Regions from separate parts of the Homo sapiens genome. Here region 2 is linked to region 1. The links are contacts of gene promoters, found by promoter capture Hi-C in human tissues and cell types (Jung and others, 2019). All regions are on one chromosome and are shown on one strand. Each heading gives the region's core, a stretch centred on a gene start or on the middle of the fragment in contact. The rest is flanking DNA. Distances are from core to core; before and after follow the strand shown. Region 1 holds the start of LRRC52 (leucine rich repeat containing 52). Region 2 has its middle 17 kb from the start of LMX1A.

The links. Contacts are between HindIII fragments. The study calls those that stand out against the background at their distance.
Region 2: a contact is called between a fragment that was not itself captured here and the fragment with the promoter of LRRC52 in region 1, in 1 of the 25 tissues and cell types used here (pancreas).

What each region holds. Positions count from the first base shown.
Region 1 is chr1:165,542,667-165,545,339 of GRCh38, forward strand. LRRC52 (leucine rich repeat containing 52) reads left to right here and starts at 1,334. Exons shown (of 2, transcript NM_001005214.4): 1 at 1,334-2,252. The coding sequence starts at 1,631. The region is part of intron 3 of LRRC52-AS1 (LRRC52 antisense RNA 1); the gene reads right to left. The HindIII fragment of the contact is 8,196 bases long and covers 1-2,673 here.
Region 2 is chr1:165,371,973-165,374,645 of GRCh38, forward strand. No RefSeq gene overlaps it. Among named protein-coding and RNA genes, the nearest start is that of LMX1A, 17 kb to the left of the region's middle. The HindIII fragment of the contact is 6,810 bases long and covers 1-2,673 here.

The DNA of each region.
Region 1 (2,673 bases), core at 84-2,583:
TAATAGAATTTGTTTTAATTATGAGGAAAGGGTGTCTGCCCTATCAATTAAGTCATGCTTCAATTAGTACAGCTATCATTGGGGTCATTACTTTAAGTATTTGAAATGTCTACTTAAATAAGGTCACTTTCAATTTGGTAAACACGCCTAAGTCATCATATTAATTCACAGCCAGTCACCCAAGGAATGCTGAGTAAGTAAACAATCAAGCATTAGCTAACTAGCCACAAATCCATCTGACTTTATTAATTTCTCTCTTGGCAAAGAAGCAAGAGAAGGAAGCAAACCATCAGAAACATTCTCACATTGTTCATTCACTATACATTTATTACATACCAGGTGCCAGGCACTGTGCTTAGGTTTCAATATGTTACTAATATTCACAACTCAGTATATATGAATGTTTTTAAAAAATGAAATCCAATTTTCCCAAAAATAAAAGTTTCAACTCCTCAGATGTTTTATCTTATTTCTGCCTGATATGCCTTCCTCCACGGGGTGTGTGATACATCCCAACTCTTCAGCTTCCAGGTTTTCTATCCCTCGCTCCAAAAGACTAATCACCTGACAAGTAATTAATGAATATAAACTCACACTAGAAGTACTAGAGAGGCACTCACTATTTTAAAAGTCCTAGGAGAATACGAGTGGTAAAAAAATACTTCTATTGTTGCACTCAGATTTTTTATATATACATTTGGGTTTTGTGTTAGAAGGAGTAGCTTACACTTATTCAAAAACTTTTTAAAAATACACATATATATATATTCAAAATGCAGACAGAGATGTATACATCCTAGGAATAAAGTCTGAAAAGAGTACCACTTTATCAGAGGAATTCCCCTTGCCTCATTTCAAAAGAAACACCCCCTTTCCCATCTTCTTCTGGCAACACTGAAAAACTGGCACCCATCCAAATCAATATCCAAGAAAAGACCCACACTGAGAACTGACCTCAAGCAAGTCACTGCTCATCACTAAGAAAAGGAGTTGGCCTGGAGATGTCCCATGTTCCCTCTATGGCCTGCAGATTAGGGGGTCCAATGTCACCTAATCTACTACAGCTCCATGGGGAGCGGGTACAGATACTATACACATCCACACACTGAACCCAGCCTGGTCTCCAACACACACATGCTGCAGGCCCCTACCCATGAGGCCCCAACTCCCCCAGGGAGTTCCAGCTGGCTTACCAAGACACATAAAACACCCTCACACCACCCAGAAGGAGAGGTGAGGAATCTCTTTCCCTCAGCCAGGCAGTCTCCTGAGGCTGCTGACATCACAAAGGTGTCAACTGGCAACCTCATTGTCATGTGGCTCTCCCCTGGCTCCCCTTCACTTGCAAACGCAGGGAAAGGGTGAGACCTTTCAAAGCTGCCAAGTGGGCAAGCTTCCAGCAGCAGTCTGGGAGCGAGCGACAGAGCCACCAAGCTGGGCGGCAGGGCATTGAGCCTCGCGTTTCAATTTCTGTTCAGTTCTCCTGTAATGGAAAATTGCTTTGCACAAAGCTAAAGTGTTACAGTTCTTTCCAGAGCCCCTCCCCCGCCCCACCCCCCCACCGGCAGCCTTCGGATCAGAGGACAGAGCCCGCAGGAAGGTGAAAGGAGGGTGGTTGTGGCTTCTTACTATGTCCCTTGCTTCAGGCCCTGGCCCTGGGTGGTTACTCTTTTCCTTTGGAATGGGGCTGGTATCAGGGTCAAAGTGTCCAAATAATTGTCTGTGTCAAGCCCAAGAAGTAATCTGCACAGGGAAGCAGTTAACCGAATACCCCCTTGACATACCCCTGAACACCCGGAGGCTGTTCCTGAACGAGAACAGAATCACTAGTTTGCCAGCAATGCATCTAGGACTCCTCAGTGACCTTGTTTATTTGGACTGTCAGAACAACCGGATTCGAGAGGTGATGGATTATACCTTCATCGGGGTCTTCAAACTCATCTACCTTGACCTCAGCTCCAACAACCTAACCTCGATCTCCCCATTCACTTTCTCGGTGCTCAGCAACCTGGTGCAGCTGAACATTGCCAACAACCCTCACCTGTTATCGCTTCACAAGTTCACCTTTGCCAACACCACCTCTTTGAGGTACCTGGACCTCAGAAATACCGGCTTGCAGACCCTGGACAGTGCTGCCTTATACCACCTCACTACTCTGGAGACCCTGTTTCTGAGTGGAAACCCCTGGAAGTGCAACTGCTCTTTCCTGGACTTCGCCATCTTCTTAATAGTGTTCCATATGGACCCCTCAGGTGAGGGCTTGATTGGGTGTGGGGAAGAGGATGTGATTGAAGTGGCTCCAGAAAAGGTGAACTCAAAAGATGGTCAGAATGGGAGAAAAAGTTGGGTGAAGCTGATTGAATGCATTCTTATTACTCTGCAGGGCCCACCCTTGGGTTGACTGGAGTAGCAGTAAGAAAAAGTTCTGAAATAGGAATTCAAAGAGCTGAGTTCTGGTCCCAAACTCAGCACTTACCAGTTGGCTACCCTTGAAAATGTCACCATTTCTCTGAGCCTCAGTTTTCTAATCCATAAAGTGGGGACAATAATATTACCTAAGGCACAGAGTTGCATCAAATATATGATGTGTGTAGAAATGATGAAGTACTCTAATTGCAAAGTGACAAGGTAATATAGGGACACTGTATTCTGTTGGTAAACTGTTTTAATCTG
Region 2 (2,673 bases), core at 66-2,565, 170 kb before region 1:
TCAACACTCAGACACTTAATATCTCTTTAATTCAATTCAACTGCCAAGAAAAGCCACAAACCCAGAAATAATCAGGAAGTCCTTCAGGCATCAGCAGCAATGAAAGTAGCCAAAAATAGCCCCAAAAGGGAAATCTGCTGAGATTCAGTTATTTTGCTAACCAAAAGAAAGTGCTACTCTCATTGACTGTTCAATGCCTATACAAGTAAAACTTTACCAGCACCCAAGTCAAAAAGAAAAAAAAGGGGAATCAGATACAATAATAACAGTAATAATAACAACTACAACATTAACAACTAATATTTATTGAACACTTAGTACATGACTCTATTCCAATTGCTTTACATGTATTACTTACATAATCTATATAACAACCATATCAGGTATCAGGTATGTGCTATTATTGTCCACATTTTATAGATGATGACACGGAGGTACAGAGAATACAATAATGAAGGTGGAAATAAAAACAAATAACAAGGAACAATCGGGTGGACAGCGATGGCCTATGTCCAGAGAAGTAGAAGTTATAACTTAGATTGGAAATATGCTGTCAATCAAAGCAGATGATGATGGAGAATAGAAGTGGCCAAGAGGGAAGACAAGTCAAATACACCAACTATAGAAAGCCCAGTGCAGAGGTATTCAGTTCTGGGACTCCCCTGTGACTCTACGGTATCACTGTTGTGTTGGTCCGTTTGATAACCAGGGAGTCCGTAAGTCAGCCTTCCCCCATAAAACCTCCACAGTGATTATGAAGACTATAGAGTGCTCAATTTCTTTGAATTTTCACGAACCAGGTATCCAGAATATGACTTGCCTAGAATTCCTAGTCCAGATGTGTTGACAACTCAAATTATTGCAGGACTGGGCTAAATTTTTGGATTGTTATAACCGGCCCATTTATTTTTTGCAAAGAATAACTTTAAAATGCCTTGAATGTTACTTGGCCTCAAGTAGTTTAAGCAATCTCCCTATAACTTTGTTCTCACTGTTCGCTTGCACTATTTTCTTTTTTCAGTGCGAATATGGATTTCAAATTGGAACATTTTTGTATGATCACCAGTTCTGAATTCAGTAGACCCTGGGCTTGTACGTGTGCATATTTTTCTTTCAAATCTGGACCATCCACGATCCTTTGACAATAGCTGCTGCTATCTGGTGTGCAAGCAGAAACTACACATGAAGGTGAGTTTCTCCACTGCTCTGGGGTCACGGGGGGCAGGGACGGGCTGGTAATTTGGAGGTTTAGGGCCAGACAAGTGGTCCTTTTCCGCTCACATGTGAAATCTGTCAGCTCTCAGCCTGGAACTGTAAGCAGAACAAGTGAAACTTCCTAGGTTACCGCAGCTCTTTCCAAGCTGTTCCTGCAGAGCAGGATGGGATGCACAGGCTGTGATTCCTGGGAGATGTCCTAAAAAGCCCCTGAAAGAACCCCTCTTAGCCCACGCCATGTCCGGTCCACAGTGTGTTGGACATTCTTACCTGACACTGATTTTTTCCTCCAGGTTTCATTGAGTAATTTGTAAGGCAGCTCTCAAGAATTATTTCCATTCCCAAATCCATCTTAGTTGTTTTTCTAACTGAGGCTGTGGCCCCAAAGTACCTCACGGAAGCCAAGCCTCTCACTCACACATGCCACAGGTCCCAGCAGCACTTCCGCCTTGAGGCAGACCCCAAGCCTAAAATGTACGCATGAGATCTTGGAGGACACATTTCTGTAGTAAGAATGTATCTCTAACTGCTCCAGGAGCCCAGCTCGGCCTTATCTGTTTCACAGGGTGCTGGAGGGACTCCCCTCTCCAATCACAGGCCAGGACTTCCGGGGTGTCCTCCCACCATCTCTGGCCCCAGCAGAGTTAATTCCAGGCATGGATGTTCAAAGTCTTCATTACCCTGTGATGCCCATATGCACCTAAATGTGGGAACTGACATTTTCCAGACATTTGTGCTCCCTTTTCAAGTGCCGGCGCCCTTAAGAAACGGAACTTGGTGTACCTGCTTTTCCTGTGCGGGTGGCCTAGCAGAGACCAGAGAGAATGGACCTTGTTCCCCGGAGGGCTGCTGCCTCCACAGGGACACCCAAATTATTCCAACCTCCAAAAGGCAAAGCTAAATGAAGTCTTGTATTCAGCCTTTGTTTAAAGATCATGTTCATGAGGTTTTGCATCATTCTAATACTTGTGCATATTATGTAATTCACACAAAGTGAACAATGGTTAAATTTTCAGGAGTAGAACTTAGAGTAAATTTTTCCCTTCCATTTACTTTTTCTGTGAACATATATTTTTAATACCCTTGTATTACCATTAGAAAGCAGAACATCTTTCTTTAATAAAAAGAAACATATAGATTTTGGTTTTGACAGGAGCTGATTCCCTGTGCGTTTTAAAGTTTAAAAATATTTTAATGGCTTATTCCAAGTTTGTGTTATTTAAAAGGTGATATTTACATTTAGCAAATTGACTTACTCTAAAGATTCACCCGATTCAGCTTTGTGCCTGTCTGTCGCCAGACTTGTCCACCTGGGAGGGAGGAGTGGCCTCATCTCTCCCCTTTCTGGCTGTCAGTCACCAGCAGGGCCCAAGCACACAGACCTCAGACTTGGCATGGTCCCTTCACTAAGCTCCCTGTGGAAAATTTTATAAGTTGCTATTTTTCTTTACCCTGAGA